2 separate regions of the Homo sapiens genome follow, and region 2 is linked to region 1. Evidence: promoter capture Hi-C in human tissues and cell types (Jung and others, 2019). All regions are on one chromosome and are shown on one strand. The core of a region is centred on a gene start or on the middle of the fragment in contact, and the rest is flanking DNA. Distances in the headings are between cores, read along the strand shown. Region 1 holds the start of EVPL (envoplakin). Region 2 overlaps RNF157 (ring finger protein 157).

Region 1 (6,032 bases), core at 1,822-4,321:
TGCCCTGACTTTGGGGTCTCTCTCTGCAGAAGGCTCTGTGAGCTAGTCCTGGTTGGGGGTGTTAGCACTGCCCCGCCACATGAGGGGTCAAAAGGTGAGGGTCTCAGGTTTGTGTGGTGCTGGGGAGGGGGCAGGCGGCCTCGGTGTCCCAGCCTTAGCCAGCTGTGCTGGCAGTGAGTTCCCGACCCCACCTAGCTACCTGCCACTTCCCTCCCCGAGCCAGTGAATCACCGGCTCAGCCACTAGCACCTGAGCCAGCCTGGCTGGGCCCTGGGAGGGGTAGTTGGGCTGGCTGGGGCAGGGAGGCAGCAGCATGTCCCCCATCCCCACCTCCTCGCACTCCAGCCCTGTGTTCCCCTATACCTCCTCCACCCCAGGGAGCCTTGCCAGCATGCTGGCTTCAGTAGCCATCTAGAGGAGCCTCACACTGTCGGAGCCGGGGAGGTGGGGCAGGCGCAAGAGACTACTGGGCACCCTAACATTCTCCAGAGTTGAGGGTTCAAAGCCCAGATTGGGCTCTGACTTGCTCTGAGTCACATGGTCAGGGGTGGAGGGGAAACCTTGCTTCCACCCCAGGGCTTTTTCTGTGCATTCGCCCTGCAGCCTCCATAGAGCACCTGCTGTGTGCATGCACTCACTGTGCGGAGGTCACAAGGTCAAGCAGACCTAAAAGAGGGCAGATTGGTCCAAGCCTTATGAGCACAGTGCCTTATGGGGGATCATTATGCTGGGGCAGGAGAAGCCTTGAACTGGGTCAAAGGATGGGCCCCCCCAGGCAAAGGGACAGTGCTGGTGAAGGCACAGCAGTCTGGAAGAACTCTGTGGCCAAGACACCCTGGTTTCATCTTTCTCCATCAGAAAGATGATGGACTTGACCTTGGTCAAGTTACTCAACCTCTCTGTGCCTGAGGTTCCTCACTTGTAAAGCGGGATTTTAATAAAAATATCTATGCCTTAGGGCTATTGTGAGCATTAATTGAATTTATCCATCTGAAACGTCCAGTGCAGGCCTGGTGCAGGGTCGGCACCCAGCACGTGTTAGTTTTTATCCCATTAGAGGGCTAGTGCCTTGAAGGCAGGGGCTTGTTGGTTCTGTCTACAGTGACATCTCCAGTGCCTAGAACAGTCCTGGCATACAGTAAGTGCTCAGTAAGTTCATGTCAAACGAGTGGATCGCACGTGAGGGGAGAGCCAACAGGGCCCTGAGGACGGAGCTGCCCCAGGCCAGGAGCGCACTGCTGGGGAGCCTGCCTGGACAGTGGGAGCTGCAGGTGCTGGGCCCTGGGCGCCCCTCCTCAGGTCCCGCCTCCTGGGATGGCTGCTCCCACCGGGAGCTGCACACTCCACCCTGGGTGGGGCTCAGGTGCCCCAGGGAGGACAGGTCACTCAGCGAGAGTGTTAGCTGAGAGTCTTAACCACTGTCTTTCCCGTCCGCCCAGACACCCAGCCTCGGTGTCTGTTGGTGCCTTGATCCCTATCGGGGTAATGGGCACCCCCACTCCCACACCAGCCTTTCATCCCTGAGGTCATCTCGACACCCTGGACCCAGGCGGGCTGCTGCCTCCTCTGCAGACGAGCTGAAGCCAGTGAGTGGGAAGAACACCGCCCAATCCATCCACAGATTGCTGAGGCTGGGCTCCAGAGAGCCGGGTGGTCCAAGGGAGGCCCAGTGCCCCCTGCACCACACCCACTGGAAAAGGAAGCCCCAGCTCTATTTTGTTTTAACAGACAGGGTCTTGCTCTGTCACCCAGGCTAGAGGGCAGTGGAGTGATCACGGCTCACTGCAGCCTCGACTTCCCGGGCTCAAGTGATCCTCTCACCTCAGCCTCCCAAGTAGCTCTGACTACAGGCATGCGCCACTACATCCAGATAATTTTTGTATATTTTTTGTAGAGACGGGATTTCATCATGTTGCCCAGGCTGGTCTCGAACTCCCGGGCTCAAGTGATCTACCCGCCTCGGCCTCCCAAAGTTGTAGGATTGCAGGCGTGAGGTATTGCGCCAGGATTTTTTTTTTTTTTTTTTTTAAGACAGAGTCTCAGTCTGTCACCCAGGCGGGAGCGCAGGGGTGTGATCATGGCTCACTGCAGCCTCAAACTCCTGGGCTCAAGCAATAGGCACGAGCCACCATGCCTGGCTATTTTTTATTTTTATTTTTTTACAGAAACAAGATCTCCCTATGTTGTCCAGGCTGGTCTCGAGCTCCTGGGCTCAAGGAATCCTCCCGCATTGGCCTCCTGAAGTTCGGGGATTATAGGCGTGAGCCACGGCGCCCGGCCATGAACCCCTAACTCTTCAATACAACAAGGCCCTGGGTGAGAACTCTGGGGAGGGCTGTGGCTTAGGCAGGAGGCAGCACAGCCCCTGCATCCCTACCCCAGGGATCCCACCCCGTCCCCTCAGTCCTCATGCCCTGTACCCAGGCTCCAGGGGTCATCCCAGCCAAGTAGAGCCTTGGGGCAGAGCTGCAGTCAGGCAGCCAGGCTCTCCTGTCTCCCAGGCTCTCCTGTCTCCCAGGCTCTCCTGTCTCCCAGCCTCTGGCAGAGGAGGGCCTCCGTGCAGGCTCCTGTCCAGCACTTCTCCCGCGAAGCGGCCTCAATCCGTGGCCCTCAGGCCCCCTTAGAGGATGTAGGGAGCCCCAGGTCATCCCCTGCCTCCTGCCAGGGCTGAAGTTCGGCCTGGGCCTGCGGCTCCCAAGGCAGGGAGAGAGTCCATCCCTGGGCCCTTTGGCCTCAGGACACCAAATGCCAGCACGGGGCTGGTCCTGGGCTCTGGGCCGCCGCCGCCGCCAGGTGGCTCAAGGACCTGGGCCTGGCACCACCCCCACCCCAGTTCCCCGGCTCCCCATCCCCCAGTCCCACTTACCGGCTGTGCCTGCTGGGGGAGCCTTTGGGGGACCCCTTGGCGGGGGAGCCCTTGGGGGACCCCTTCCCCTGGGAGCCTTTGCTCAGCCCCTTGAACATGGTCGTAAAGGCAAGTGCTGGCTCAGGCTGGGCTTGGCTGGCGAAAGACGGCAGGAGGGCAGGTGGGAGGCAGCGGGCGTCCTCACTGGCTGGTCAGCTAAGTCTGGCGAGGTGGGGCGGCTGGGCACTGGGGAAGGGAGTTTCTGGGAGGCCCCTCCTTGCAGGTGAGGCAGCGGGCGGGCGGCCGGGTCCCAGGCCTGACGCGCATGCACCCACAACGGCCACACTCATGCCTCCTCCTGCACAACCAGTCTGGGAGGAAAGGGCACAGCCCTGAGGGCGGGGCCGAGCCTGCCCGACTCCCACAGAAGGTTTGGACTTGTTACACCCACATGCCTAGGGGAGCGCAGCGGCGATCACACCCAGATAGGGAAGGAGTTGGGCCAGGACAGACAGGGCTGGAGACAGACGTGCACATGCAGGTGCAGGCTCAGCGGAGAGGCCCCAGCCCCGGAGCTCAGGATTAATAAACACCTCCAGCCAGCTCAGAGGACCTGCTGCCAGGCAGGCCCCCACCCACAGCTCTCAATCCCCCAGGAGAGGAGGGGGTGTCCTGCCAGCCCAGGGCCTGACTCTCTGTTCTCCACTGACATGATGGGGCAGTCAGGGGACGTTCACTCCAGACAACTGGCACAAGGTCCATTTTTTTTTTTTTTAAGAGACAAAGTCTCGCTCTGTCACCCAGGCTGGAGTGCAATGGCATGATCTCGGCTCACTGCAACCTCTACCTCCCGGGTTCAAGCGATTCTCCTGCCTCAGCCTCCTGAGTAGCTGGGATTACAGGTGCCCGTCACCACGCCCAGAAAATTTTTGTATTTTTAGCAGAGAAGGGGCTTCACCATGTTGGCCAGGCTGGTCTCGAACTCCTGACCTCAAGTGATCCACCCGCCTCGGCCTCCCAAAATGCTGGGATCACAGGCATGAGCCACCACGCCTGGCCCCATTTTATAAAGTGTGCACAGTGCAGCAGCACCAGGGCTGGCTTCAGGCGCCAGTAAGCCTGGGCTCTGGCTGAGGCCCGGGAGCCTGATGCACTTGGCTTTTCCTACCTGCCTCTTCCCCCACCCAGAAATGGCCCCTGGTGGCTTTTATGAAGTCAGATTGAGTGGCAGACAGTGATGCCAGCTTATTGGTCTTTTCCTCACACTGGGTACCAGGGCTGCTGCCTTTTCCTTCTGTGGTGGCCCTGAGCGTCTTCAAGAAAGAGGCGATGGCACCCCCCTTTCCAGGCGCTCATTTCACTGGCCCAGCGTAACAGGCCCCTTCTGCGGGGTGGCGTCGCTTTCCAGGTCATTCCTGAAACCCCCGTGGTTTTAGTGGAAGGAGGGCTTGAGGGGGAGCCAGGGGATGGAACAGACTGACTGGGTGACATCACCTGGACATCCTGGCAGGCCTCGCTGAGGACAAAGCACAGCCTGGCAGGAGAGAAAGATCCCAGCAGACGGGGGAGACCAGGGACCGACGCCTGATACTGGCCTCAGGCCCCCATGGGATAGAAAAGTCCTGCGCCCTTTTTGGCTGAATTTCATGGGAAGTCCCTGAACTCGGCCGTGGAGAGGGGATGCAGGACACCCCCATTCCTAGAGGTGGAGGAGCTGACAGGGGCAGTAGGGGTGGGGAGGGCAGTGGCAGCCCCTGACAGCAATGAGGAAACAAAGAGGTCTCCAGTGTCCTTGGCTCCCAGCCCGTGTCTTGAGTGAGATGGCACCAGGGATGACTGGCCACTCAGCCTCTGCCCCAGCCTGCTCCCACTTTATTCCTGGTGACACTTGTCTTCTAGCCACTCATTGCACACCTGCAATCAGCTGTCTTCAGAAAGGAGCCGTTTGTGTGAATGACTACGGGGGCCAACGCCAGCCTCACCCCTGGCCTCCCTGACTCGCCTTTTTCTTTTCTTTCTTTTTTTTTTGAGACTGAGTCTCGCTCTGTCTCCCAGGCTGGAGTGCAGTGGCGCCATCTCGGCTCACTGCAACCCCTGCCTCCCAGGTTCAAGTGATTCTCCTGTCTCAGCCTCCCGAGTAGCTGGGATTACAGGCGCCCGCCACCACGCGCGACTAATTTTTTGTATTTTTAGTAGAGACAGGGTTTCACCACGTTGGCCAGGCTGGTCTCGAACTCCTGACCTCAGGTGATTCGCCCACCTCAGCCTCCCAAAGTGCTGGGATTACAGGCATCAGCCACTGAGCCCGCCTGCTTCACCTTTGAGCTTGGCCCCTCCCTGGGAGGTGGCAGTCATTGGAAGTGGGGCCCTGGGGAGAGGTGTCCAGACTCCAGACAGAGAGCAGCCGGGTGAGGCCCCTGAGCTGTGCAGGGGGAGGTGCCCTGGGCGGAGGGCAGCGAGTCTGAGGTCTGGAACACTCGAGCTTCCTCCCCTCTTCAGAAGCCCTCCAGGAAGGAAATGAGCACTGCAGGGGGCCCTCACACGCCCCGGAGATTAAGGGCTAACTGATTTACTGCAAGAAAAACAAGAGCTGACTTCCTGGCGTGATCTTCTCATGCTGGATCAAATCAGGCCCCGCTCCTCTGATAAGGGCTGCCAGGCGGCAGGCAGGAACACCCTGAGTCCTGAGGCGTCCTCTCACGTGGGATGCTCCTGTCAGATGGCAGCAACCCTGGCCCCAGAAGAAAACAGGAGAAAGGACAGGGACACAGAGTGAGGCATGGCTGTCTTTGTGCTTCACCTCTGGCCTCACCCTTTGGAGAGAAAGGAGCCCTTTATCTAAAAGGTCAAGATGGGGCTGACTGCCTGGGTCAAGACCCTCAGCGTCCGTTTCTGCAACCACAACTCCTGCTGTGTGTGGCTGTAGCGCATTTGAAGGTGCCCGGACCGAAGTGAGATGTGTTATATGTGCAAAATTCACACCAGATTTCAAAGACGTACTATGGAAAAAGAATGTAAAACGACCAGCTGCGGTGGCTCATGCCTGTAATCCCAGCACTTTGGGGGGCCAAGGTGGGCGGATCACGAGGTCAGGAGTTCAAGACCAGCCTGACCAACATGGTGAAACCTCGTCTCTACTAAAAATACAAAAATTAGCTGGGCGTAGTGGCGCGTGCCTGTAATCCCA
Region 2 (6,032 bases), core at 1,496-3,995, 180 kb after region 1:
GATTTGCTTTCCTAATATAAAATTATGTCTTTTAAAAACATTTGCCAGCGCGGTGGCTCACACCTGTAATCCCAGCACTTTGGGAGGCCGAGATGGGCAGATCACCTGAGATCAGGAGTTCAAGACCAACCTGTCCAACATGGTGAAACCCCATCTCTACTAAAAAAACACAAAAATTAGCCAGGTGTGGTGGCAGGCACCTGTAATCCCAGCTAGTCAGGAGGCTGAGGCAGGAGAATCACTTGAGCCTAGGAGACTGTGGCTGCAGTAAGCCAAGATCGTGCCACTGCACTCCAGCTTGGGTGACAGAGTGAGACTCTGCCTCAAAAAAAAAAAAAAATTCATTTGCTATGTGTAACATTAAGCATACTTAATGATTACTACATAAAAGCAACAACAAAAACTCCAATGTTGATGTTCTTTTTTTTTTTAAGTGGCATTTATTGATTGATTGATTAAGATGGAGGTCTTGCTATATTGCTCAAACTGGACTCGAATTCTCCTGGGCTCAGGTGATCCTCCCATCTCAGCCTCAGCCTCCTGAGTAGCTGGGACCACAGGCACATGCCACTGTGCCCAGCTTGATCTTCTTTGGGAAAAAGCCTCAACTTTAAGGTTAAGGCTGCTACCTAGCATTTCAGAAAGAGCTCAGTCATTCATAGGTCGGCATAGGCAAACTTAGGAAAAGTCTGCCAGCCAGCATAAACTTCAAGTTGAACCTAAAGCAGCATTTACTTCAAGCTTGTCCAACCTGCGGCCCAGGGGTAGATGGCTTTTAATGTGGCCCAACAGAAACTCGTAAACTTTCTTAAAACATTGTAAGATTTTTTTGCGTTTTTTTTTTTCTTTTTTAGCTCATCAGCTATCGTTACTGCTAGTGTATTCCGTGTGTGGCCCAATGTGACAATTCTTCTTCTTCCAATGTGGCCCAGGGAACCCAAAAGATTGGACATCCCTGATTTACTTATTTTTATATCATCTTTATGGACTGAAAAGGCCAAAATTTTTTTAAAAATATATAAACTATCTTTACATCAGATGAAAGGAAAAAGACAGAAACAGATGCAAACATCAAGTCCATGTTATTAATAGAAGAAACGGCTACTTTCATTTTTGTTTTTGTTTTTTTGAGACGGAGTCTCACTCTGTCGCCCAGGCTGGAGTGCAGTGGAATGATCTTGGCTTACTGCAACCTCCGCCTCCTGGGTTCAAGCGATTCTCCTGCCTCAGCCTCCTGAGTAGCTGGGACTACAGGCTCACACCACCACGCCCAGCTAATTTTTGTATTTTTAGTAGAGATGGGGTTTCACCACATTGGTCAGGATGGTCTCGATCTCTTGACCTTGTGATCCGCCCGCCTCGGCCTCCCAGAGTGCTGGGATTACAGACATGAGTCACCGTGCCCAGCAGAAAGGGCTACTTTCAAAGCACAAGCTGACTCCCTGTGAGTGAGGCAACATTTTTATCTGGCTCTATCAGAAAAAAAGAAAGATCTGTCTACTCTAATTACCAAGGCAGTAGTAACAAAATCAAAGAGTAGACATCTGATAAGTATTACTTGACATAACTTAACTTGAAGCAGACAAGATTTGGTATTTTGAAAAGTGTACTACTGGACGAAAAATTAGCAGAGGGGTCACTCCAGATAGAAAGGAAGAGAACCCGCCGGGCGCAGTGGCTCATGCCTGTAATCCCAGCACTTTGGGAGGCCAAGGTGGGCGGATCACGAGGTCAGATCGAGACCATCCTGGCTAACACAGTGAAACCCCGTCTCTACTAAAAATACAAAAAATTAGCCGGGTGTAGTGGCGGGTGCCTGTAGTCCCAGCTACTCAGGAGGCTGAGGCAGGAGAATGGCGTGAACCCGGGAGGCAGAGCTTTCAGTGAGCCAAGATCGTGCCACTGTACTCCAGCCTGGGCGACAGAGCCAGACTCCGTCCAAAAAAAAAAAAAAAAGAAAGAAAGAAAGAAAGAGAACAATGAAAACCAAAAAAATAATTATTTTTATGTTAAAGGTCAAGATGGAAGACCATCATCAGATCAATCTTCCTAAAAAAGCAATTTCTCCAGGTCACTCACCTACCTACAAGTCTTAAATATTCCTCACGGTCTACAGGAGAGAGTAAAAAACCTATCAAGGTAACACAGCCGCCACCTACCTTTCTCTTTTTTTTGAAACAGAGTCTCATTCTATCCCCTAGGCTGGAGCGCACTGGGGCAACCTCAGCTCACTGCAACCTCCACTTCCCGGGTTCAAGCGATTCTCCTGCTTCAGTCTCTGGAGCAGCTGGGATTATAGGGGTGTGCCACCACCCCGGGCTAATTTTTGTGTTTTTAATAGAGATAGGGTTTCACCATGTTGGCCAGGCTGGTCTTGAGCTCCCAACCTCAGGTGATCTGTCCACCTCGGCCTCCCAAAGTGCTGGGATTACAGGTGTTGGCCACTGTGCCTGGCCCACCTTTCCAATCGGGCCAGACTGGTTTCCTTATTTGTTCCAGGGAAGAACAAACCATGCTCATTTCAGCTCTGTATCCACAGCGCCTATCACAGTACCTGACACGCAGTAGTTGCTCAGTAAATGTTTGCCAATTCAACAACTTGAATGCTCTTAGGCCTGTGCCGTGCTCTACTCCTGGAAAGGCCTCATCCAACCCACCATTCTTCAAAGGCCAGTTCAACTCCCTGCACCTCTTCCCAGTGTAACACTGAAGCAACCTGCCCTTGCCATTGTCTTCTCCCACTCTCAATTCCCACCACATTCAATCACTTCTGATCTTTATTGTTAATTAAACATTTCCTGTTTTCTGTGTTTTGTCTGCTCCACCAAACTTGCAGAATATTTCAAGGCAGTGAGGAGCACTGGAAAGATTACTGATCTGTGACCAGGCAAACCTAGTTACATGACTTTGAGAAAAATGTATATAAAACCCTTAGAACAGTGCTTAGAACATAGTGTGCACTTCCTAGCTTCTGTCATTATTCATCTCTCTGAACACCTCAGTTCTCTCGCTTATAAAATAGAGTGATAAGTCCTAAGTCAAGTGGTCTTCATATGGAACAGGGGTCTCTAGGACCTTCCTAGCACACGGTAGCCACTCAATAGCCACCTGGCGGCTATTATTACAAAGCCTCCTGCATGATGCAGAGAAGGTGCGCAATAGAAATTTATGAGAAGGAACAAGTGAGAGAAATGTATTCTCATATCAACTCATATATCAAGAGAAAAATTTTCAGTCATTCATTCAACAATCATTTATTAAGGGCTTAACATTACGTGCCAGGCTTTGTTCTAGGTTTGGGATACTACAGTAAAAACAGTCCTTGCCTTATGAAACTTACGTTCTAGAGGAGGAGGCAGACAATAAGCAGAGAAAGAGACAAATCAATAAAAGGTTGGTGTTAAGTGCCATGAAGAAAAAAAAAAAAGGTAAGCCCTTGGAAAAGGGTTGCCTAAAGAGGTGACAGGGAGAGATCTGTCCTAGCTTAATTTGTGAGACTCATCCTCTCCCTCACAAGACTCCAGGAGCTCTTCCAGTCCTCTAGCAACAAGAGATCCCATACAACCAAGGAGGCTGCAGTTTGTCTTCTAGTGCATCTCTCTCAACTCAGACCAAGCTACAAACTGCTGAACAAGCAACTGCAAACTTATTTTTGTTACATTTTTTGAATTGGCCACTTAAGCTCCAAGTAGGAGTAAACTGATTACAGCCATACCACAACTGGTCTGTTCCCCAGAAAGTTCAGATCGCTGTTCTCTCCAAACAGGTAACCTTCAGGATGAGTTGAGTCAAACTTCTCTCCTCCCATAATGAAGTGGCTGGCAAAATAGCTTCCTAGAGAGGAACAAACAAAAAAAATCAAACAAGCAGAAAACAGTCAACCTAAATCTAGTAAAAAAAAAAAGCTGATTTTTAAAATGTTAACCTTTTGGGCTGTGCGTGGTGGCTCACACCTGTAATCCCAGCACTTTGGGAGGCTGAGGCAGACAGATCGCCTGAGATAAGGAGTTCGAGACCAGCCTGGCCAACATGGCAAAACCCTGTCTCTACTAAAAATGTAAAAATTAGCCGGGTGTGGTGGCACATGCCTGTAGTCCCAGCTACTCAGGAAGCTGAGGCAGGAGGATGGCTTGAACCCAGGAAACAGAAGTGCAGTGAGCCGAGATCCTAGCACTACACTCCAGTCTGGGCGACAGAGTGAGACTCTGTTTCAAAAAAACAAAAACAAAAAAGTTAACCCTCTGAATGAATAATTAGAGCAATTTCTAATCCCAGAGTGTTTTCTTTTCCTGATTTGGGACAATGGCACAAAATAAGTAAAATCATAGCAGGGAAAACCCCAGATACCAAACGTAGACTAGATCACTGTTTTCCTTTTAACATTCTTAACTGAATTCTTCTAATGATCTGTTTAAAATACCTCCAGCCAAAAGACCAAAAGGTTCTACAATGCACATTAATGATCATATATATTTTTTGGTTCCTGACTTTTGCCTTTAAACTTGAAGTAGTTATTCCATGTATTGAAGAATCTCAGCTACAGGTATCGGCATATACATACACTGTGATATTGTAAAATATATGTTTGATCTTCAACCCTATTTCCTGGAATGCAACTCTTAAAATCCTTGGAATATCCAGGCCGGCATGGTGGCTCATGCCTGTAATCCCAGCACTTTGGGAGGCTGAGGAGGGCGGATCACTTGAGGTCAGGAGTTAGAGACCAGCCTGGCCAACACGGTGAAACCCCATCTCTACTAAAAATACAAAAATTAGCCAGGCATGGTGGCATGCGCCTGAAGTCCCAGGTACTTGGGAGGCTGAGGCAGGAGAATCTCTCGAACCCGGGAGGCAGAGGTTGCAGTAAGCCAAGATCACACCACTACACTCCAGCCTAGGTGACAGAGCAAAACTCCATCTCAAAAAAAAAAAAAAAAAATGCTTGGAATATCCAAAGTGATGTCTTTTTTTTTTGTCTTTACATATGCTAATGAATTAACCACTGCCTGGCAGCCCCTAGGTAGCCTCAGGATGGCGGCTGGTCACTGGAAAGAAAAGGCAGGATTAGAGGGTGGGGACTTTCAGCCCATCCCCCAACCACTGAGGAAGGGAGAGGGGATGAAAGTTAAGTTGATCATCAATGTCCAATGATGTAATCAACCATGCTATGTAATGAAGCTTCTATAAATACCCAAAGGACTGGTTCAGAAAGCTTCCAAACAGGGGAACACTTACAGGTTTCTGGAGGGTAACATGCCCAGAGACGGCATAGAAGCTCTGTGCCCCTTCTCACATAACCTCGCCCTATGTATCTCTCTCTGTATCCTTTGTAATATCCTTGATAATAAACTCGTAAATGTGTTTCTCTAGTTCTGTGAGTCCCTCTAGCAAGTTAATCACACCCAAGGAGGGGGTTATGGGAACCCTGCTTTCTGGTTGGTTAGTTGGAAGCACAGGTAAAACAACCTGGGGCTTGCGATGGGCATCAGAAGTGGGGGGCAGTCTTGTGAGATTGCACCCTCAACCTGTGGGATGGGACACTATCTTCAAGTAGTATCAGAAGTGAAATGAATTGGAGGACACCCAGCTGGTGTCCTCTGCAGAACTGAGTGGTTGCTGGTGGAGAGAATCCCCACACATTTTGCTGACCAGAGGTCACAGAAGTTTTCTGTGCTGCTTGTGTTGTGAGTGTATAGGAGAAACTGAGTTTTTTTCCTATATCCGCAGACGCACACATTTCTTTGCCTAGATTTTCATAAGCCAGCTTATACCTACACACAGAAGTCTCAGTACCCACCCACCACTACTGCTATACCTCCATAACCTTCTATGATGAAGGTTCTTCACACTTTAACTTGCTGCAAACATTATTGTTTCACAGGAAAATACGAATTTAGATAATACAGTTATCCCTGGCTTTCTCTACCAATTACTACACAGACTATGGTGTAAAATAAGGGGACAATTTAATGCTATGAAAGAAGGCTACACACATACCCTCTCCACCTCAAATTCATTAACAGTGCTAATGG

What was found. The method cuts DNA at HindIII sites, captures the fragments that hold promoters and counts their contacts. A contact is called where the count stands out against the background at its distance.
Region 2: a contact is called between a fragment that was not itself captured here and the fragment with the promoter of EVPL in region 1, in 1 of the 25 tissues and cell types used here (psoas muscle).

Annotation. Positions count from the first base shown.
Region 1 is chr17:76,024,235-76,030,266 of GRCh38, forward strand. EVPL (envoplakin) reads right to left here and starts at 3,072. Exons shown (of 22, transcript NM_001988.4): 1 at 2,867-3,072. The coding sequence starts at 2,964. RefSeq lists an enhancer at 2,654-3,541. The HindIII fragment of the contact is 23,388 bases long and covers 1-6,032 here.
Region 2 is chr17:76,208,649-76,214,680 of GRCh38, forward strand. RNF157 (ring finger protein 157) reads right to left here. Exons shown (of 19, transcript NM_052916.3): 2 at 3,716-3,834. Among named protein-coding and RNA genes, the nearest start is that of RNF157, 29 kb to the right of the region's middle. The HindIII fragment of the contact is 4,899 bases long and covers 297-5,195 here.